6 separate regions of the Homo sapiens genome follow, and regions 2, 3, 4, 5 and 6 are each linked to region 1. Evidence: promoter capture Hi-C in 16 types of primary human blood cells and fetal thymus (Javierre and others, 2016). All regions are on one chromosome and are shown on one strand. Each heading gives the region's core, a stretch centred on a gene start or on the middle of the fragment in contact. The rest is flanking DNA. Distances are from core to core; before and after follow the strand shown.

Region 1 (3,664 bases), core at 476-2,975:
AGTATCTTCTCTGTCTCCTTCAGTTTCTGTATTGCTTCTTCAGGGGTTGGCCCTTTCTCCTTCTTCCCTGAGGAGTCCAGTGGAGTAGGCCCAAATTTTGTGAAGGAAAAATATTAGCCACCAATCATTGAATACATAGTATGTGCTAGAGACCTGACTGTGTTATTGCTAATCCCCAAATCTCTACAATGAACGTGCTATCTCTTCACTTTAAAAATGTGAAAACAACCACAAAGATGTTAAAAATCACAACTAATAAGAGATTGTGCAGGAATCAAGATGTGGCAGTATGAGTTCTAAAACCAATATTCTTTTTACTATTCCTAGCTGCCTTTCTTTTTTTTTCTTTAGGCAGAGTTTCAGTCTTGTTGCCCAGGCTGGAACGCAATGGCGTGATCTCAGCTCACCTCAACCTCCGCCTCCTGGGTTCAAGCAATTCTCCTGCCTCAGCCTCCCAAATAGCTGGGATCACAGGCATGTGCCACCATGCCTGGCTAATTTTTTGTGTTTTTAGTACAGACAGGCTTTCTCCATGTTGGTCAGGCTGGTGTCGAACTCCCAACCTCAGGTGATCTGCCCGCCTCGGCCTCCCAAAGTGTTTTGATTACAGGCATGAGCCACCGCGCCAGGACTTCTTTTTTTGAGACAGAGTCTCGCTCTGTTGCCCAGGCCAGAGTGCAGTGGCATGATCTCAGCTCATTGCAACCTCCGTCTCCCGGGTTCAAGTGATTCTCCTGCCTCAGCCTCCCTGAGTAGCTGGGACTACAGGCACACACCATCATGCCCACCTAATTTTTTTTTTTTTTTTTGAGAATGGAGTCTCCCTCTGTCACCAAGGCTGGAGTGCATTGGTGCAATCTTGGCTCACTACAACCTCCGCCTCCTGGGTTCAAGCGATTCACCTGTCTCAGCCTCCCCCAGTAGCTGGGACTACAGGCGCGTGCCACCACAACCAGCTAATTTTTTTTTTTTTTTTGTATTTTTAGTAGAGACAAGGTTTCACCATGTTGTCCAGGCTGGTCTCGAACTCTTGACCTCAGGTGATCCACCCACCTCGGCCTCCCAAAGTGCTGGGATTACAGGCGTGAGCCACCGCGCCCGGCCAATTTTTATATTTTTAGTAGAGACGGGGTTTCACCATATTGGCCAGGCTGATCTCAAACTCCTGACCTCATGATCCACCCACGTCGGCCTCCCAAAGTGTTGCGAGTACAGGCGTGAGCCCCCGCGCCGGGCTAAGAAGGCAGTCTTTCTTCTTCACCTTAGATCCCTCTTGCCCAGCACAAAGTATTATAGAACAAGGTTTTGAAAATGGCTGAAGACAGCAGGAAACTCGTCTTCAAGCCTGAACAGTGGGAGTCAGCACGATCGCCACGCCCTCAACTCAAGTCCCCTCCCAGATCTTGAGTTCTTCCCTCTGAGAGTGGGGGAGGACGGCGGACGGGAACAAGGCGCCCCGACATGGTGTGCCTTTTGGCACCGGCGATGAGCCTTGCTCCGCCATCGGCCGCCGGGGTTTTCCAGTCAGCCTGTCTCCTGATTCTCTTCCCCTGCCCGGCGCAGCGGTCCGGCCGAATCTCGCCGGGGTCTCCTCTTCCCCTGCACCAGCCAGCGCCTCCTGGCTGGCCAGTCCCACCCTGGCTCACCCTTCCCGAAGAGCCTGCCGAGACCACTCATCGCGAGCTCGCCTCTCCCGCCTCCGCCCCTCAGCGTCCTCCAGACTTCCGCCTTGCTCCTGGGAGGGTGATGTCTCATCACACAGGGACCAGCCTTGCCCAATCCGTCCTCAGGGCGCCGCCGCGACATCAAGAGGCGCAAACGAGACCACCGGTGTCACGTGACCCAAGCCACCAGCCCCAGACCGACGCGCTCCTCTTAAAGCTGCCACATCATTTTCTATTAAGTAAAAAGACAGTTCTATCTCCACCTGAGTACGTGCTTGTTCTCCGGAAGGAAATGTGCAGTGTGATGGCACCTCAGTGTATGGGGTCAGTGGGAAAACTTCATGCTCTTTACAGAGCTCAGGAAAGTGGGGTGGTATAGGTTCAAGCACTTGGGGTTGCCCTAAGTTTAGATGGCAAACCTGATGCAGTCTAATGTCTCACATTCTGGTCTCTGCACCTCAGGACAACCAACCCCATTTCACAGGCTAGAAAAATAGAAACTCCCCACACTGTGGGTAAAATCTCTTCTGTCACACACAGATGAACTTTAATAAATTACAAATGCACCTGAAAATGCCTTCTTGATTTCCTTTCAGTTTAGGCCTCAAATGGGCTCTCCTCAAGGCTGGACCTCAAAGGCCCAGTTTGGGCCTTCGCAAATGTCTCTAACCCTTGACTTAGAGTTTGAAGATTCATTCCATTCTGGATGTGAATGCAGGTAACACCTAGAAAGATAAGAAGTCACATTTCATTAAGCTTTCAGGGTTCTCCATTATTACTCTGACCTTTGTGAGTGCCACCTATAGGGCAAACTATCCAACCTGTATGTATCTACCTAATCCCTCCTAGGGACCCCAAATGGCTGTTCCTCATCACTCAGTACCCAGTTTGCTGACGTCTACAATATTCCGCCTCTCATCATCAAAGAAGATCATCTGGGAGAAAGGAATTCCAGTCTTCTGCTGCAACCTATTCAAGACAGGGCAGGAGTAACCAAGCTAGTATCTTGGTTTCCCAGGCCTCTCTGATACTTTCTCACCCTGCTCCTCCCTTATCTCCGCATACCTCTCAAAGTGTGTGATCTTGCTGCCTGGATAGATTTCCCGATGAACAAAGTACCTGAAGAGGTCAAAGAGCTCCAGTAGCTGGTTGGCCCCTTCTATCTCACTTGTCCTGCAAAACGGTGTAAAAGATGGGATTAGCAAAGTGAAGGGCCAGGGCTACGTTAACTTATTAAGCAAAGTTAGTAAGTATAACCAGGGAAATCAACTTGCTGTTTTTCCGGGATGGACAGGCATCCTCAGCCTCTGTTTAACTCCATTGCCTTCCTATTTGACACAATTGGTGCTGGGCCAATGTTTTAGCTTTTGTTTTGAGACAGGGTCTAGCTCTGTTGCCCAGACTGGAGTGCAGCGACCCAATCACGGCTCACTGTGGTCACGACCTCCTGGGCTCAAGTGATCCTCCCACCTCAGCCTCCCAAGTAGCTGGGACTACAGGTGCACGCCACTACAATTTTTTTTTTTTTTTTGGTAGAGATAGGGTCTCCCTCTATTGCCTAGGCTGGTCTCAAATTCCTGGGCTCAAGTGATCCTCCCACCTAGGCCTCCCAAAATGCTAAGATTACAGGTGTGAGTCACTGTGTCTGGCCCCACTTTTTTTTTTTTTTTTTTTTTTGAGACATTGTCTCACTCTGTCACCCAGGCTGAAGTGCAGTGGCTCCATCTCAGCTCACTGCAACCTCCGCCTCCCGGGTTCAAGCGATTCTCCTGCCTCAGCCTCCCGAGTAGCTAGGATTACAGGTGCGTGCCACCACGCCCTGCTAATTTTTGTATTTTTAGTAGAGACGGGGTTTCACCATGTTGATCAGGCTGGTCTTGAACTCCCGATCTCGTGATCCACCCGCCTCGGCCTCCCAAAGTGCTGGGATTACAGACGTGAGCCACCGCGCCCGCCTGCTGGCCCCACTTTTTAATAGTTAAAAGGCACAGGAGAGCGTT
Region 2 (3,664 bases), core at 840-3,339, 230 kb after region 1:
CTCCACCGTGACAATGCTTTTGCTCATGTCTCTCATCATACAAGAACAATTTTGTTAGAGTTTCAATGGGAAATCTTTAGGCATCCACCTGATTTGGCTCCTTCTGACTTCTTTTTGTTTCTTAATCTTAAGAAATTCTGTCAAGGGCACCCAGTTTTCTTCAGTTAATAATGTAAAAAGGACTGTATTGATGTGGTTAAGTCTCCAGGACCCTCAGTTCTTTAGGGTGTACTAAATGGCTGGTGTCATTTCTTACGAAAGTGTCTTGAAGTTGGTGGAACTTATGTTGAGAAATAAAGTTTATATTTTATATTTTTTAATCTTTTAATTGATTTTTCCACAACATTTTGAAATTTCCTCATATTTCCCTCTGTCTCTGCCATCACAATCGTCTTATGAGTTATTCTGTCTTGTGTAAATATCTGCAGTAGTCTCCTAGTAGGTCTTCCTGCTTTTGCATGTTTCTCCTCTCCAAACTATTTCACACATTGCAAGCTGAGTGATCTTTGAAAACCATATGAGGGGAACATTATAGTGGCACGTATAGTTTAAAAAACTCCCAGTTTAAAATTCCTGGATATGCTGGATAAAATTAAACATACCTCCATTTAAATGTATTGCCAAGTTAGCTAGAAAAATAAAAAAATCCCAGAAGCCAAAAAATGAAATGTGTCTTGGGACTGAGGTTATGACAAAGATTATTTGCTTGGCCAAACTTTAGTCAGGCTTCTGAACCTTCTAGGCTCATTTGTACACCTCTTTGTAAAATCCAGTTTTCGCAAAGAGCCTTGCTAAGTCAGTTTAGCAAGAACCCCCTCAACCCTTGATATCTGATCACTCTCAATCTCTGATCAGGCCCCTCATCCTTCATCCCCTAGGTGATGTCTGATCACCTTGGCCTATCTTCACATGAATCCCGTTAGTTTGGGTTAGCCAGAATCCCTCTTACCCTTGATATTTTTCTCTTACTAATTTTTCATCCACTGACCCCCACCGTATTCGTTGGCTATAAATTCCCACTTGCCCATGTTGTTTCATACTTGACCCCAATCTCTCCCACTGCAAGACCACATTGTAGTGGTACCTGTACCTATTGTGATGGAAAGTCTTCCTTACCTTACTCTATCAAGTGTCACTGAATAATTTTCTTTAACAGGTATTTTGTGACTTTTAGTTTCAGTAACCCAGAGGCTTGGGTGACAGGAGACCATGCCTGAGATCGAAGCAAATTTGGGACTGAGACCCCTGGATAAAGCCCTTGGGCTGTGTTCTCAGATAAAAAGTAAACTTTAAAAGTCCACCTGGTATCAAAGAACATGGCCTGGAAACTTGTTTCTCTAGGCTTTGCTCTTGTCTAGGATTGGTTGTCAAAAAAATTACCGTTCTTTGAGAAGTTGTATCTATTGTCCTGTCCGCCTGCATATTTGTGGTTTGAATTAATTGTTACCTACTTGGCCTAGAAAGCTCTAACCCAAGAATTTAAATTAAGTGTTCCAGATAGAAGACATAAATCTTCCCTTGGTTTGGTTTCACAGGATTTCAATAGATAAAATCCTGCCAAGCATAAACATACAATACAAAATTACAAAACACACAAGGAAACAAAGCACTCTGAGGGTGTCAAATAAAATCAAACCAAACCGAAACAGAAAACAGCAGATTTAGACAAAGATTTAAAGTGTTAGAATTTAGAGGTATAGAATATAAAATTACCAAAGTTTAAAACGTTTAAGAAAGAGAAGAAATTAAAAACATGAGAAAGAGACAAGATGCTATCAAAAAATACCAGCAGAATTGATAAAAGAACCAACCTGAACTTTGAAAAATTAAAATTTTTTTAATTCAAAAAATTTTTTATTGTACTTTAAGTTCTAGGGTACATGTGCACAATGTGCAGGTTTGTTACATATGTATACATGTGCCATGTTGGTGTGCTGCATCCATTAACTCATCATTTACATTAGGTATTCCTCCTAATGCTATCCCTCCCCCCACACCCACCCCACAATAGGCCCCGGTGTGTGATGTTCCCCACCCTGTGTCCAAGCATTCTTATTGTTCAGTTCCCACCTATGAGTGAGAACATGCAGTGTTTGGTTTTTTGTCCTTGCGAGAATTTGCTCAGAATGATGGTTTCCAGCTTCATCCATGTCCCTACAATGGATCATCCTTTTTAATGGATGCATAGTATTCCATGGTGTATATGTGCCACATTTTCTTAATCCAGTCTATCATTGATTGACATTTGGGTTGGTTCCAAGTTTCTGCTATTGTGAATAGTGCCACAGTAAACATACATGTGCACGTGTCTTTATAGTAGCATGATTTATAATCCTTTGGGTATATACCCAGTAATGGGATTGCTGGGTCAAATGGTATTTCTAGTTCTAGATCCTTGAGGAATCACCACACTCCCTTCCACACTAGTTTCCACTCCCACCAACAGTGTAAAAGTGTTCCTATTTCTCCACATCCTCTCCAGCACCTGTTGTTTCCTGACTTTTTAATGATTGCCATTCTAACCGGTGTGAGATGGTATCTCATTGTGGTTTTGATTTGCATTTCTCTGATGGCCAGTGATAATGAGCATTTTTTCATGTGTCTGTTGGCTGCATAAATGTCTTCTTTTGAGAAGTGTCTGTTCATATCCTTCACCCACTTTTTGATGGGGTTGTTTGATTTTTTCTTGTGAATTTGTTTGAGTTCATTGTAGATTCTGGATATCAGCCCTTTGTCAGATGGGTGGATTGCAAAAAATTTTCTCCCATTCTGTAGGTTGCCTGTTCCCTCTCATAGTAGTTTCTTTTGCTGTGCAGAAGCTGTTTAGTTTAATTAGATCCCATTTGTCTATTTTGGCTTTTTTTGCCATTGCTTTTGGTGTTTTAGACATGAAGTCCTTGCCCATGCCTATGTCCTGAATGGTATTGCCTAGGTTTTCTTCTAGGGTTTTTATGGTTTTAGGTCTAACATTTAAGTCTTTAATCCATCTTGAATTAATTTTTATATAAGGTGTAAGGAAGGGATCCAGTTTCAGCTTTCTACATATGGCTAGCCAGTTTTCCCAGCACCATTTATTAAATAGGGAATCCTTTCCCTGTTTCTTGTTTTTGTGAGGTTTGTCAAAGATCAGATGGTGGTAGATGTGTGGTATTATTTCTGAGGGCTCTGTTCTGTTCCATTGGTCTATCTCTCTGTTTTGGTACCAGTACGCTGCTGTTTTGGTTACTGTAGCCTTGTAGTATAGTTTGAAGTCAGGTAGCATGATGCCTCCAGCTTTGTTCTTTTGGCTTAGGATTGTCTTGGCAATGCGGCCTCTTTTTTGGTTCCATATGAGCCTTAAAGTAGTTTTTTCCAATTCTGTGAAGAAAGTCATTGGCAGCTCGATGGGGATGGCATTAAATCTGTAAATTACCTTGGGCAGTATGGCCATTTCGATGATATTCATTCTTCCTATCCATGAGCATGGAATGTTCTTCCATTTGTTTGTGTCCCCTTTTATGTCATTGAGCAGTGGTTTGTAGTTCTCCTTGAAGAGGTCCTTCACATCCCTTGTGAGTTGTATTCCTAGGTATTTTATTCTCTTTGAAGCAATTGTGAATGGGAGTTCACTCATGATTTGGCTCTCTCTTTGTCTGTTATTGGTGTTTAGGAATGCTTGTGATTT
Region 3 (3,664 bases), core at 603-3,102, 200 kb before region 1:
TCTGCAGTGCACTGTGCCCCTGGTTTATTGAGACTAGAGAATGGCGATGACTTTTACCAAGTATACTGCTTGTAAACATTTTGTTAACAAGGCACGTCCTACACAGTCCTAGATCCCTTAAACCTTGATTTCATACAACACATGTTCTTGTGAGCTCCAGGTTGGGTCAAAGTGGTTGGGTCAAAGTGGCTGGGGCAAAGCTAAAAATTAACAACATCTCAGAAAAGCAATTATTTAAAGTACAGGTCTTTTTCAAAATGTAGTCTCTTATGTCTTCCCTTTCTACATAGACACGGTAACAGTCTGATCTCTCTTTCTTTTCCCTACATATCCCCCTTTTCTTTTTGACAAAACTGTCATTGTCACCATGGCCTGTTTTTGCTGGTCACTGTCTTTCTGGAACTGCTGGATACACCTGTAGACTAACAATAGAGAGGGCAGACATACAAGGATTAATACAAAATTTGCAATAGTGGAATTTCCAATGGTTTTAACCCAAGTGATGGGGGCAAGAGGACAGTGTGGGTGCTCCGGCACCCAGGCAGTCTCCCTTCTCCTTTGTCTCTTAGTTGTTGTTTCTCATAGTTTTCAATCTTTCTCCTCACCTGCTCACTCGCACTTTTTGTTTCATTGTCTCCCTTCTCTTATGGTCTCTCTCTCTTTTTCTCTTTTTCTTCCTTTTACACTATTTCTTTTCCCAGTCTCACTTTCTGTGTCTCTCTCTGATCTCTGTCTTTCTCTTTTACATTATTTTTTTCCCCAGTCTCACCTTCTGTGTCTTTCTCTGATCTCTGTCTTTTCCAGTCTCTCTCTTACTCATTTTCTCCCTCTCTTTCTCTCTCTCTCTCTCTCTCTCTGTCTGTCATCCCGTGTCCTCTCTCCTTCACACTCAGTCTCTTTTTCTTTTTCTTTTTCTCCCTGGCTCTCCACATCTGCCGTTTTCTCTCCTTTCTCTTTCTGATTTCTCTTCTCACTTTCTCTCTTCCTTTCTTTCCCAGTTTCTCTTTTTTCTCTGTTGGTCTTTCCCAAATAATGAAAAGGAGTGGAGGTCTGAATGTTATCAGATGCTATTGTCAGGCCTGCGTTTGCAACCTCTGTCTGCAGAAATGTGTAACAGTCAATTAATTTGTCTCTCGTTTCTGCAGCACTCAAAATATCATCAACATAATGAATAATATAACAGTCTGAAAACTTGTCTCTAACTGGTTGAAGAACTTGAGCTACAAAAGTCTGACAAATAGTTGGACTATTAAGCATTCCCTGAGGCAACACTTTCCGCTGAAATCTGGTGGCTGGTTTTTTATTATTTATGGCTGGTATAGTAAAAGCAAATTTTTTTAAATCCTATTTTGCCAGAGGAATGGTAAAAACGCAATCCTTTAGCTCAATTATAATTAAAGGCCAATCTTTGGGGATCATGGCCGGAGAAAGCAGCCCAAGTTGGAGAGTCCCCATGGGTTGAATTACTGCATTGATGGCTCTCAAATCAGTTAGGATGCACCATCTGCCTGATTTTTTCTGAATTACAAACGCAGGAGAATGCCAAGGTGAAAATGAAGGCTCAATGTTTCCCTTTTCTAATTGTTCCTTTGCCACTAAGTGTAAGGCCTCCAGTTTTTGCTTTGGTAGTGGCCACTGATTTACCCATACAGGCTTTTCTGTTTTCCCAGTTAATGGAATGGGTTTTGGAGGCTCTACAGTGGCCACTCCTAAAAAGGATACCCTATTTCTTTTTTTTTTTTTTTTTTGGATTTTTTTAGCCTCAATTGGGACTTTAATGCCTTCTCCATTTTTCCCTAGTCCTTTACCAGAGAGATATCCCATTTTAGTCATGATTTTTTGACTCGTGGGGCTGTATAGGGAGACTGGAATAGTAATCTCTGCATGCCACTGTTCTAACAAGTCTCGGCCCCATAAGTTAATTGGAATAGAAATAATCATAGGCTGAACTGTACTCTCTTGATTATTAGGGCCTAGACAATGTAAAATCATGGCACTTTGATACACTTCTGAGGCGGTGCCCACACCAACAAATCCTGTAACAGGCTTTTGTTTAGGACAATTTTTTGGCCATTGATTTAAGACAATAATAGAAACATCAGCCCCAGTAGCCACTAATCCTTCAAACTGCTTTCCCTGAATAGTGACTGTACACACAGGTCTATTCTCTGAGAGCTGACTAGCCCAATAAACAACTTTTCCAGCAGGGTTGGTACTTCCAAACCCTCCTGTTCTTTCTGTTTTGCTATTCCCAATTTTAATATAAGGCAAAAGCAATAATTGAGCAATTCTATCACCTGGATTGGCACTCCAGGGAACAGCAGAGCTGATCACTAACTGAATTTCCCCTTTATAATCTGAATCAATTACCCCAGTATGAATTTGGACTCCCTTTAAATTTAGACTTGATCTTCCTAAAATAAGGCCTACCATCCCTTCTGGCAGCAGGCCATACACCCCAGTAGGAATCTTTTGAGGGAGCACTCCAGGGAGTGAAGAAACCATTTGAGTAGAACATAAATCTACTGCTGCGCTGCCTGCTGTGGTGGGGGATAACTGTTGTATTGTTGTAATTGGCTGATTCCCTGGAATGGTGGTATTTACTGTGGGGGTTGTTGTCCCTGAAAACCCTGAGGAACAAATGGCTGAATCAAGAATGCCCCACTTTGTTGCGGGGCCTGGGGCTGGTCCCTCTTCTCGTTTCCTGACAATGGTTGCCCATTTTTATCAAATTTAGAACAACATTCCTTAGCCCAGTGTTTTCCTCTTTCACATTTTGGACACAGGCCAGGTGGCTGTTTATTTTTGTTCTGTTTATTTAAGACTGGGCAATTCTTTTTTAGATGACCGATTTGACCACAATTATAACATTTTCCCCCAAATGTTTTAACTTGTCCTCCTAAAGCAACCCCCGTAATTGCTTGAGCCAGTAGCATTGCCTTATGCATAGTTCCTCCAATCCCATCACAAGCCTTCACATATTCTGTAATTACATCAACTCCTGCTGAAACCTTTCCTCTTAATGGCTTTATGGCCAATTGACATCCTGGATTTGCATTTTGATAACCCATTATTTCTACAACAACTTTTTGGGCGTTATCATCTGCAATCGATTTTTGAGCTGCATCTTGCAACCTTGCCACAAAGTCTGGATATGGCTCTTTAGAGCCTTGTCTGATTGAACTAAAAGAAGGGCAGGAGGTTCCTGGGTCCTGAATCTTTTCCCAGACCCTGAGGCAAATAGCCCTTAATTGTTCAATAGCCTCATTCTGCATTACTGATTGTTGGTTAATAGTGCTCCAATTTGGACCTGTTTCTGGCAATTGGTCTGCATCTATATTAACAACAGGATTAGTAGCCTGATTTTTCCATACCTGTTCTTGTACTCCGTCAATCCACCAGGTTTTAAATTGTAGATACTGAGAGGGTGAAAGAGAAGATTTAGCCAAAATTTCCCAATCATAAGGAATAAGTCTATTCCCATTAGCAATGGAATCTAATAATGTTCTCATATAAGGAGAGTTGGGTCCATATTGTTTAACTGCCTCCTTCATATCTTTTAACATTTTCATGGTGAAAGATTCATATCTAGCCTCAGTTTGGACAGACGCTCCTGCTTGACTCCGTTTTCCAGCCGGTATTGGTTGTAAAATTACCAGGAACT
Region 4 (3,664 bases), core at 638-3,137, 190 kb after region 1:
TTGTCAGTTTTCCCCAATGTTCTGCAGTCTCCCAGTGAGGCCCCTTTGTGCGGTTCTGTTTTCCTCCATTGTCAGGCACTCTTGTTGTACTTAGGGGGCCTTCTATCTGGACACTCATGTTCCTCAGATCTGGGAAATGTGGGGAAGTATTTAGTCGATGATTTCCTCTCCTGTGCTATCTCTGTCCTCTCTTTCTGGAAGTCCTCTGCTTTTCTTATGTTTTCTCCTCTTTTTCAACTTTAACTTTTTGTTCTGCTTTCTGAAGATTTCCTTAATTTTATCTTTGAAGCCTTTTCTTGGGTCTTTCATTTCTGCCATCAAATTTTTAATGTCTAGAAGTCACTTATATTCTCTCTGTTAAAAAATAGTATCCTACGCTTTTTAAATCCAATTTGAAACGTATGTATTCTATTCTTGTTTAGTGTCTACCATATTCTTTGTTACCTCTCTGAGGATAGAAATGATAGTAAGCTTTTTGAAGTTTTCTTCTCCCCCCTAGTTTCTCTTCTTTCAGGTTGCTTTTTTGTTTTCCTGTATGGTTTGTCCTCTGTGTTTCACATTAGAAGTTTTCCTCACAAGCCTGATAATCCTTGCATGATAAAGAGTGAAGGACAAAAAGCTGATTGGGAGTGGAGGCTGTGGGCAAGACTTGTTGGTTTTGAGCTTGATTGTACAGAGATTTGCAGGTGCTGTTGGTTAGGGACCCCGTTTTGTGATCTTTAAGTCTCTGCTCTTGGGCTGGCCAGGTTTTCCAGAATGTATGCCTGCTTCCCTGGCCTGGAGGGTCAGGGTCTGGCTGCCAAGCAAATCTCTGAGTGGGAAGAATGAGTTTCTCTGCGTTTAGCTTGCATTGTATACATCATTCTTTGGCCCTCCTCACTCCCTCCATGTTTTTTTGTGTGGTGCTCACACCTTCGATTATGCTGATCAACCTCGACTCCTAAGACCTTGTTTTGTACTCCCTGGAGAACAGCCCTCCAGTGAGCGGGAAGCTACTTGCCAAGCCTGTGTGTGTGTGTGTGTGTGTGTGTGTGTGTGTGAGAGAATGTGTGTGTGTGAATGTGTGTGAATGTGTGTGAATGTGTGTGTGTGTGTGTATGTGTGTTGGGAGTGGTTGGGCTCCCAGATCTAACTGCTCCTCAAAGAACCTGGTTTTTCATGTTCCCCTTCACTTCCAATTCCAGAGTTTCTTGTTGTTGTTTTCTGAGCCTTTTGAGTATCCTGCAGTGTAAATTGGGGTGGTTCTGGAAAGTAGACAATGAATGATAACTGACTTATGAGAAAGGAGAACCCTAAGTTAGGTGTTAAGTAATAAAGCACCTTGACAAGTACAGAATAATATTAAAATATGTCATATAAATGCTTTTATTTAACTTACAAGTTGACTAACGACCTGTGGGTATTGGACAATATATTCTTACAAATACAGTGCTCTTTTTCTGTGTCCTTTTCTATTCTTCTGTATCATCTTTCTACCTAGTTGTTAGTTGTTCCTGCCTCTTCTTCTCTACTTTTTCTCCTCTTGGAGGAAGAAGGTCTGGGTTGGCTTTAGGCAGGAAAGCTGTTCAGGTATTTTCAGGCTGTAAATGCCTGTTGTTTCCTTATCTTCTCTCCCTCTACAGTATAGACGGCATCATGGTGAAGACCCCCGACTGTGGAGCTAGAGTGCCTGAGTATCCCAGCCTACTAACTGTGTGATCTTGGACATATGGCCTTCCTTGCTCATCTAAAATGGGGATAATAGTATTTCCTTAAAGGGCAGAGAGAGGAATAAATAAGATAATGTGTGCAAAGTGCCTGACACATAATAAGCTCTCACTAAATATTAGTTCATATTTATTATTTTAAAAATTATCACAGTTCCTATATATTTCTTAATTTTAAAATATCGGGCCGGGCACGGTGGCTCATACCTGTAATCCCAGCACTTTAGGAGTCTGAGGCGGGTGGATCGCGTGAGGTCAAGAGTTCGAGACCAGCCTGACCAACACGGCAAAACCCCATCTCTACTAAAAATACAAAAATTAGCCGGGCATGGTGGTGCACATCTGTAATCCCAGCTACTGGGGAGGCTAAGGCAGGAGAATTTCTTGAACCTAGGAGGCGGAGGCTGCCGTGAGCTGAGATCACTCCAGTGGAAAAATTCTGGTATCAGAGCCTCTAGCTGTGCCACTGTACTCCAGCCTGGGTGACAGAGTGAGACTCTGCCTCAAAAAATAAAATAAAATAAAATAAAATAAAATAAAATAAAATAAAATAAAATATTGGACAGTTGATGGAACCATAAATATTCTAAGCTCTCTGCAGAAAGAGAAAGAAGCCACCCATAATCTTCTTCCCCAGCACATCTCTCCATTTTTCATGTTGTTTTCCGGTCATTGAAATGGGGGTGCCTGGGGTGGGGGAATATTTGTTAAGGTCTGAGACAGCCCACACCTGCTCAGATTTAACCTTGCTAGGCAGTGGGACCAGATGAGGTTGGGGTAGGAGGGGTTGGCTTGGGATGTCCATCAGGTTTTGAGCTGGTTTTGAACTGATTGAAAAGGGGTTAGACATGTATTTCAGGCTCTGAGGAAGAAGTTGCAGGTCTGTGGCCTCGGCCAGGTGGAAGAGGGACACGTAGGCCTGAGCCGGGAAAGATGGCCCGGGGACTGAGCAGAGGCACCTGGGTGGTCTTCAGGATCGCTGCTGGAGATCCAAAATGGAGTATGGGACTGCCAGGGGAAAGCAGGAAGAGGGATGAGAGGGATGACTATCAAAGAAAGGGGATGTGGAGGGGCATGGGGGCATATGAAGTCCACATGGGGTGGCTGATTGGAGCGAGAGCTCATGGGACCGCACAGATGGAACTCAGCCAGAGTGGAGAAACCCCAACCTCGCCCACCCCAGCCACTGCTAAAGATGGCAAGTGTGTGCCCTGTGAGCTCTGTGAACTCTAGGACTTGGTCTGCCCAGAAAGCCAGAGTTCTTCCTTCTCTTTAGCTATTGTGTGTATGTGCGGGTGCAGGGGTTCCCCTGGACACTGGCCCAGTGGCTTATCTCCTGCTCTGTTGCCTCTGGGCAACAGAGTTACTATGATTAGGGGTACAGGTTGTGCTAGAGGCATTCTGGAGGGGGATGAAGCTCGAGTCTCACATGATTACCCTGTAGTCACTGTGGTCTGCCAGAGGAGGTGGAAAAATTTCTAGTATCAGAGCCTCTAGCTGTGTGCCCTTGGGCAAGCTGCATAGCTCTTCTCAGCCTGCAAAATGGGAACAGGCTGTGCCAGGTGTCATCCTCAGTACTTTCTGCGTATTAATTCACTGAAGCTTCAGAGTGGCCCAATGAGGCAGGAACTATTACTGTTCCCATTTTACAGAGGAGGAACTGCAGGCACGGGGGCAGGCGTGTTGTGTGATTAATAACTTGCCACAGGTTGCATAGTTCCTAGCTTATGGAGGGTGCCCAGTAGTGTGCAGCCACTTTCTCCCCAGCTGTCACACAATTCAGGAATGCCAGACTGGGACTAGACCTCAGGAGCATCCAGTTTAACCTTTCTTTTTCTTGGTGAAGAGACTGCGGTGCTGAGAAGGTGATAGATGCCCCACAATTAACCTAATCAGTTGAGGTCGAGTTGGAGCTGCAACCTGGGTTCTTTCCCTCCTCTCTCCCAGGCTTCCCTGTT
Region 5 (3,664 bases), core at 642-3,141, 170 kb before region 1:
CGGAGCACAAAATTGACCAAGGGCCCATGTACTGCTACTTGCCCAAGGCATCAAAATTGCCAGTTCCAGGCAAATGCAAAGTCTGGTTTCAGGGTGGCTTTGTACTGAAAACCCTTGTTGGCAGATTCTGCTTGGCCATTCATTACTCTAGCACATGCCTCACTACCTACTTATAACTTATTAAGGAGGTGAGATGTTGCCTTTCTTGGCTTTCTCAGTTTAAATTTCCCTTTCTGCCTTGAATCTTTCATGCCTCCAGGTCAAAAGAGAGAGACAGAGACAGGGAAAATGACATCATAACCAAATATGGAATTGCTTTAAATTCAGGCTGGTATCTTCTCCCATCATGGCTCTCCTGGGCAGCCGGTTTCCTAATGACCCCAGCTCACTTTCAGAGGGCTCTTACGAATTAGCTCTGTGCTACAAAGTGGGAGACTGACCTCAGTTCTTCCACCACTAACTAGCTTTATGCCCTGAACAAATCACTTTCCCCAACACGGAATAAGCAGGCCTCCTGTTCTTAGCTAGCCCCAGTGTGTTACTACTGAACTATATGATCTTGAGAAAATTCCCTGAACCTGTTTCATCATCTCCACCTTAAGGACATTGGAATAGATGATCTCAAAGGCCCCTCCAGGGTAACTTTCTACAGCTCTATTTAAGCCAGTTTTTCCATTCAGGTAAGTGTGGCCAGATTGACTTTGAAATAATGGTAACTTATTCAAGAAGAACTGGACAGTAAGCACTTGGAGAAATGTGGGTGGAACTCAGTGTGAAAGGAAGAGGAGGGGTCTGGAAATAGATTTTGGGGTGAGATTTGAAATCACGAGAATGAAGGAGCTCCCAAATGGGAAAATGTAAAGAAAAGAGCATAGGGTCAGAGACAGCCTTAGAAGAATAGGAGGTGGGAAGAAAACACTGCAAAAGAAATAAGGCCAACTTCCTGGTGGCTCACACCTGTAACACTTTGAGAGGCCGAGGCAGGCGGATGGCTTTAGCTCAGGAGTTCCAGACCAGCCTGGGCAACATGGCAAGACCCTGTCTCTACAAAAAGTACAAAAATTGCCCAGGTGTGATGGCACGCACCTGTATTCTCAGCTACTTGGGGGGCTGAGGCAGGAGGATGGCTTGAACCCAGTAGGTCAAGGCTGCAGTGAGCTGGGATCATGCCACTGAACTCCAGCCTGGGTGACAGAGGAAGACTCCATCTAAAAAAAGAAAGAAGCCAACCTTAAATGGTTAGCAGCAGATCTTAGGGTAGTTTTCAAAAAAGATGTTTTAAGAAATAGAAGTTATTTTGACGATAGTTCCTAAGAAGGAAGATTTGTTGTTGTTGTTGTTGTCATTGTTGTTGTTTTTTTAAATATAGGGATAAGGTCTCCCTATGTTGCCCAGGCTTCTCTCAAACTGCTCAGTTCAAGTGGTCCTCCCACCGTGACCTCCCAAAGTGCCATGATTCCCGGCGTGAGCCACCACGCCCCGCCCAGAAGGAAGTTTTTATCAACGTGAATAAATGCACCTCCCTTACTTACTGCAGCCCTGGTCCAGACCTTACCCCTCTCCCTAGGCTATGAAGCTTCATGGAGTTATTGATATCCTATCACTATCGATAACAAACTCCGTCTGCTTTTAGAATGTGTTTATCAAGTGCAGTGTAAATGTGAGGAGTCTTTGCCACATGCCACACACCTGGAGCACACCTGGTAAAGGGCGGGTGGGGGCAGCTTCCTCTGTCCCTGCCCTTCTCATTCGTTTCTGCTGCTCCTACTTCTGTCTGCTTCCATCTGCCCTTCACTATCCACCGTCTGCTCCCCTCCCCAGCCTTCTTCCCGGCATGCTCTGCTACCTGGTTGATTTCCAACAGAGACGTGGCAGCTAATATGCCAACAACTATGACACTTAAACTTACACACCCAACTGTCCCCCTTTCAGCTGCCAAAAAGGAATCATTTTTCATTAGCTGGGAAATATTAAAAGCTGCTAGTTAAGTAAAATACTAATTCTGGTGAAATAACCAGTTGCCACTTTATAATATACATCCTTTAAAAAAGTAAAAATAAAAACCTATATTATTTTCTTCCTAACTGCAATGTCAAGAAAATCTGAGATCCAGATGTCTATATTCAAGTGGTACAATATTGGGTTTTATGTGTAAGTATATAATTACATTACATTCGTAATATATTTCACACACATTCTTTAATTACAAAGCTTTAATTAAAATATTTGTCTTTGTATACTAAGGTTAATAGTCCCACGATTTGGAAATGCTAATTTTTTATGATCTCCCATGGTTTTGCTTTTTACTCTGATGTTGTATTAGTCTGTTTTGCGTTGCTATAAAGGAATACCTGAGCTGGGCAATTTATAAAGAAAAAGAGGGTTGTGGCCGGGCGCGGTGGCTAACGCCTGTAATCCCAACACTTTGGGAGGTCGAGGCGGGCAGATCACGAGGTCAGGAGATCGAGACCATCTTGGCTAACATGGTGAAAGCCCGTCTCTACTAAAAATACAAAAAATCAGCCGGGTGTGGTGGCGGGCACCTGTAGTCTCAGCTACTTGGGAGGCTGAGGCAGGAGAATGGTGTGAACCCGGGAGGCGGAGCTTGCAGTGAGCCGAGATTGCGCCACTGCACTCCAGCCTGGGTGACAGAGCGAGACTCCGTCTCAAAAAAAAAAAAAAAAGAAAAGAAAAGAGGGTTGTTTTGGTTTACACTTCTGCAGACTGCAGAAGAAGCATGGTGCCAGTATCTGCTTCTGATGAGGCCTCAGGAAGCTTACAATCATAGCAGAAGGCAAAAGGGAGCAGGCGCGTTACATGGCAAGAGAGGAAGTGAGATACCAGGCTTTTAAACAACTAGCTCTGGCATGAACTAATAGAGTGAGAGCTCACTAATTGCCACCAGGAGAGCACCAAGCCATTCATAAGGGATCCACCCCATGACCCAAACACCTCACACCAGGTTCCACCTTGAACACTGGTGATCACATTTCAACATGGGACTTAGAGGGGACAAACATACCAACTATATCAGATGTCATCAAACATTTCTCAACACTAAAGTATCAGGATGTGAAAACACTATGATTTATTTACCAGTGTTTCATACACATAAAGACCAAAGTGCCAAAATGTTCTTCAGTGAGCTAGTTTTTTATTGTTAAGCTTTGTCCCTCTTTTTTTTTTTTTCCTCGCTGTGTCATCGAGGCTGGAGTGCAGTGCTGCGATCTAGCTCACTGCAACCCCCGCCTCCCAGGTTCAAGCGATTCTTGTGCCTCAGCCTGCCAAGTACCTGGGACTACAGGCATGTGCCACCATGCCCGGCTAATTTTTGATATTTTCAGTAGAGACAGGGTTTCACTGTGTTGCCCAGGCTGGTCTCAAATTCCTGGCCTCAACTGATCCACCCACCTCGGCCTCTCAAAGTGCTGGGATTATAGGCGTGAGCCACTGCACCCAGACAGATTCTGATAGTCTTTACAATGGAGGAACATCTTTCATGAACAGTCTGAATAGAGACCCTATGAAAGTCAGTTTTAAACTAAGTACAGGCACACCTCGGAGATATTGTGGGTCTGGTTCCAGGCCACCGCACAATAAAGTGAATATTATAATAAAGTGAGACACACGAATTTTTTGGTTTCCCAGTGCATATAAAAGTTAC
Region 6 (3,664 bases), core at 686-3,185, 150 kb before region 1:
TAGGGACCCAGGAGGAGAGGTGCCAAACTGGTGCTTACCCTCCCCCCAGAACTATCCTATGGGATCGGAACAATACATCTGCCCTGGGCTTCCTGGACATCGCAAGGGCCCTGGAGAGGTGAGTAGACCATGGTCCTGCCCTGATCCAAGTCCCCAGCCTCCCTGTGCCTGGATCAGGCCTGAACTACTCTTGCCCCACCCTAGCCCCTTTGACCTATTTGCACAGAAATTTTAGGAAGGGCCATGGAAGACAGAAATGATGAGCAAGGGGGCTGGAGGGCTGCTCACCAACAGAGGAGGCAGGGGCCTCCCATCCTCACCTGTTCCCACCCAGCTGTGCCCCTGTGTCCCACAGCAACCACACGCTGCGCTTCATGTCCTTCCCCGTGAGCGACATCTCCCAAGCCTATCGCAGCGCGCCTGAGCGCACCGAGGACGTCTGGCAGAAGGTGCAGGGTGCTGTCCTAAGCAGGGTGGCACAGCAAGGGGCAGGGGGCAGCCCCCATCCCCAGGCCCTGACCCACCAACCCCATCATCTCCAGATCCAATGGTGCTTAGTGAGGAACAACCACTCCCAGACGTGCCCCCAGGAGCAGGCCTTCAGGTTGCAGCAGGGCCTGGTGACCAGCAGCGCCGAGCAAGTAAACGTTTCCCTCTGGGACACGGGGCATACCCGGGGCATGCAGGGCACAGTGTGATGTGATGGAAAATTGAGTGGGGGAGCATGAAGAGGCACTGCATGGTGCCTATCACTGGACTGAGCATGTGGGGAAGCAAAAAGAGAGGACATGCAGGATATGGGCTTCAAACATATGTGGGCGAACAGCAGGAGTGCACAGGACTCTGGGAGCTCAGCTGGGCATTCAAGAAGGCTGTAGCAATGGGGACCAGGCCAGCCAGAGACATCACCTCCACCACTGTCGGTGCCAGCACCAGTAGCACTGTCTAAGGGGTCCTACCTGCGAAGATGTGGAAGCAGGGGTCCCCTTGACACCCCTGCCACTGTGCTCCAGATGCTGCAGCGGCTGTGTGGACGAGTGCAGGAGGAGGTGCGGGCCCTGAGACTATGCCCCCTGGAGCCTGTGCAGGATGAGCTACTCTACGCTCGGGACCTCATCAAAGATGCCAAGAACTCCCGGGCGGTGAGCCCTCCACAGGCTACCCTTCCCCTGAAGTCTGGAGAACCCAAGAAGGCCGACCATGCTAAGCCATGACAGCCCTGCCCTGTGCATCTGCCTTCCTAGCCCAGGGACCCCAGAGACCTAGCAAGTCCTGGTTCTGGCCTGCTAATCATAACCCCTTCCTTCTCCAGCTGTTTCCCAGCCTCTATGAGCTGGGCCACGTGCTGGCCAATGATGGGCCTGTGCGGCAGAGGCTGGAATCAGTAGCAAGTGAGGTGTCCAAAGCTGTGGACAAGGAGCTGCAGGCAAGTCCTGGAGGAGGGAGGAATCCATGGTGGGAACCTAGTGTTGACTGAGGCCCTAAGCCCAGAGCTAAAGTCAGAGCTGGGAGACTTCTGGAGGGCCAGGAGGACATGCAGAGTTGAGACCACCCACGCTCCCACTGTACCAAGGCATTGCTGCAATATCAGGCTTGGATTTTTTTCTGCTAGCTTTGATGTTGGTCCCTGAACTCTGACCTCCCTGCTCTGGATTTGGATCCTTGGACTGACTGCCCCTGTCTGTATGGTAGGGTGGAAGGAGCACTGACCAGAAAGTGGGGAAGCCTTAGTGTCCAAGGCTCTGCCACTAACAGTTTTGTGACTTAGGCAGGTCCCTCAGTCTCAGCAGGAGGGGCTGGAATAGATAAAGTCTCTTCTGCTGTGGTGCCAGCCCTGATCCTGTCCCCCTTGGGCCTCTGGCCTCCCTTTCCCCCATACTAGGTGATCCTGGAGTCCATGGTCAGCCTGACACAGGAGTTATGCCCTGTGGCCATGCGGGTGGCCGAGGGACACAACAAGATGCTGAGCAATGTGGCGGAGCGTGTCACTGTGCCCCGGAACTTCATCCGAGGGGCACTGCTGGAGCAAGCAGGACAGGACATTCAGAACAAGCTGGAGTGAGAGGCAAAGGGCAGGGCTGGGGCTGAGCTGGATTTGGCCCAGATCACTTAGGGACTTAGGACTGGAGAGCTATCAGCAATGAATAATGAATGGCACAATCTCCATTACAAGGATCAATCTTTAACCAAGTGCAACCTTGCTATTTAGGGTCTGGCTGGTCTTTGCCCTAGAAATCTAAGTGCTGAGCTGGGGTTTAGGAGCCAAGTTTGTGCCCACACAGGTGTACACACACATACCCACACAAATACACCAGGAATGGGATAGCAGGGCCTCCTCGGAGGCATGGACAAAGAAAAGTACCTGAGTTGGGTGCATGGAAGCACTGTCTTCCTCCCAGTTTTCATTGCCCCTAGAGTTCTTTCATTCTGGGTCTGGGTGCCACCACTCACCAAACCAAAGGAAAACTAGTACACATACCTATGAAACAGCTAGGCCCAAGGAAGGGTCTTTCCTACCCTCACAGTAGCAACTAGCAGGGTTTAGTTACTCAGCACCCCAATTACCTAGCTCTGTTCCACTGGGGCTCCAGGGGCCTGACCTAGGGCCCCCTTGCTCCTTCTCCTCGAATTCCTCTTTCCCCACACATAGTTGGGCTGGGGGCTCTGGGGTGGGACTAGACGTGTATTTGTGGAGAAATGAGTGTCAAGGGCTAGGCTGCCTCCTTCAGCAGCCACATGCGCTCCATGGGCAGACAGACCAGGCCAGCTGGCCGTTCTCTCAGGCTTCTGGGAGAGGGAGTGCCTCAGGGGCCATGCGGGGGACTGAGGTGCTAATGTTCTGAGTAGCCCCACCTGTGCCCACAGTGAAGTGAAGCTCTCAGTCGTCACCTACCTAACCAGCTCCATAGTGGATGAGATCCTGCAAGAGCTCTACCATTCCCACAAGAGCCTGGTAAGGCTTCTTCTGCAGCCTGGCCTGGCTCGGGCACGCCCTCCACCCCACATTATCCTGTCTCCCTAATCACCCTCCCCTTCAAGGCCCTGGGAGGTGGGCAGCTTCCATGGAATTCTGTTCACACCTGCCCTTCCCCAGGCCCGGCACCTGACCCAGCTAAGGACGCTGTCAGATCCACCAGGGTGCCCAGGCCAAGGGCAGGATCTGTCCTCCCGGGGCCGAGGCCGGAACCATGACCATGAGGAGACCACAGATGATGAACTTGGGACCAACATTGTGAGCCCCCCGCTCCCTGCTCCTCCTTAATAACCTGGGCCCTGCCCTTAAACCTGCACAACACTGTCCCCTTCCACTGATCTGTACTCCCCTGGCCACCTCACTGTGCCTGGCCTTCTGCCTCCAATCTCAATCCAGCCCAACCTCTTCCCTCATCCCAGTGCCTCAGCCCCCTGAGGAGCGAGGGGCAGGATGGGCTCAAATAAGGTTTCATGAGGAATGGATGGCTCTGGGTGAGGTGCCTGGCCCTGCCACTCGTCTTCATTTCTGCAGGACACCATGGCCATCAAAAAGCAGAAACGCTGCCGCAAGATTCGGCCGGTGTCTGCCTTCATCAGTGAGTCTCCCAGCCTCCGTTCTCATGGACTCCAGACTCCCGCCCTCTGTAGCCCCTCTTTCCCTTGATTTTTTCTCTGTCTCCCCATCCTGCTT

What was found. The method cuts DNA at HindIII sites, captures the fragments that hold promoters and counts their contacts. A CHiCAGO score of 5 or more calls a contact.
Region 2: a contact is called between a fragment that was not itself captured here and the fragment with the promoter of CHMP4A in region 1, in 4 of 17 cell types (neutrophils, non-activated CD4 T cells, naive CD8 T cells and 1 more). The highest score is 9.0, in neutrophils.
Region 3: a fragment that was not itself captured here is called in contact with the fragment with the promoter of CHMP4A in region 1 in 1 of 17 cell types (total CD4 T cells); the score reaches 5.9 in total CD4 T cells.
Region 4: a contact is called between a fragment that was not itself captured here and the fragment with the promoter of CHMP4A in region 1, in 1 of 17 cell types (total CD8 T cells). The highest score is 6.4, in total CD8 T cells.
Region 5: a contact is called between a fragment that was not itself captured here and the fragment with the promoter of CHMP4A in region 1, in 1 of 17 cell types (total CD8 T cells). The highest score is 6.2, in total CD8 T cells.
Region 6: a contact is called between a fragment that was not itself captured here and the fragment with the promoter of CHMP4A in region 1, in 2 of 17 cell types (activated CD4 T cells and total CD8 T cells). The highest score is 6.3, in activated CD4 T cells.

The regions. Positions count from the first base shown.
Region 1 is chr14:24,211,763-24,215,426 of GRCh38, forward strand. It overlaps CHMP4A (charged multivesicular body protein 4A), which reads right to left and starts at 1,726. Exons shown (of 6, transcript NM_014169.5): 1 at 1,647-1,726; 2 at 1-67. The coding sequence starts at 1,677. It overlaps NEDD8-MDP1 (NEDD8-MDP1 readthrough), which reads right to left. Exons shown (of 7, transcript NM_001199823.3): 5 at 2,730-2,837; 6 at 2,548-2,633; 7 at 2,181-2,389. The coding sequence ends at 2,262. It overlaps MDP1 (magnesium dependent phosphatase 1), which reads right to left. Exons shown (of 6, transcript NM_138476.4): 4 at 2,730-2,837; 5 at 2,548-2,633; 6 at 2,181-2,389. The coding sequence ends at 2,262. RefSeq lists enhancers at 1,135-1,254, 1,209-2,017, 1,445-1,944, 1,581-1,875, 3,030-3,664. The HindIII fragment of the contact is 5,751 bases long and covers 1-2,418 here.
Region 2 is chr14:24,445,735-24,449,398 of GRCh38, forward strand. All of the region lies in intron 2 of LOC101927045 (a long non-coding RNA gene), which reads left to right. Among named protein-coding and RNA genes, the nearest start is that of SDR39U1, 4.8 kb to the left of the region's middle. The HindIII fragment of the contact is 4,219 bases long and covers 1-3,664 here.
Region 3 is chr14:24,010,393-24,014,056 of GRCh38, forward strand. It overlaps the pseudogene DHRS4L1. Among named protein-coding and RNA genes, the nearest start is that of DHRS4L2, 23 kb to the left of the region's middle. The HindIII fragment of the contact is 5,186 bases long and covers 1-3,664 here.
Region 4 is chr14:24,403,989-24,407,652 of GRCh38, forward strand. The region is part of intron 2 of NYNRIN (NYN domain and retroviral integrase containing); the gene reads left to right. Among named protein-coding and RNA genes, the nearest start is that of NYNRIN, 6.8 kb to the left of the region's middle. The HindIII fragment of the contact is 2,837 bases long and covers 470-3,306 here.
Region 5 is chr14:24,041,121-24,044,784 of GRCh38, forward strand. It overlaps the pseudogene DHRS4L1. Among named protein-coding and RNA genes, the nearest start is that of CARMIL3, 9.1 kb to the right of the region's middle. The HindIII fragment of the contact is 635 bases long and covers 1,575-2,209 here.
Region 6 is chr14:24,059,615-24,063,278 of GRCh38, forward strand. It overlaps CARMIL3 (capping protein regulator and myosin 1 linker 3), which reads left to right. Exons shown (of 40, transcript NM_138360.4): 22 at 50-118; 23 at 356-449; 24 at 543-641; 25 at 1,014-1,142; 26 at 1,313-1,426; 27 at 1,883-2,058; 28 at 2,866-2,953; 29 at 3,095-3,232; 30 at 3,506-3,569. Among named protein-coding and RNA genes, the nearest start is that of CARMIL3, 9.4 kb to the left of the region's middle. The HindIII fragment of the contact is 4,487 bases long and covers 1-3,664 here.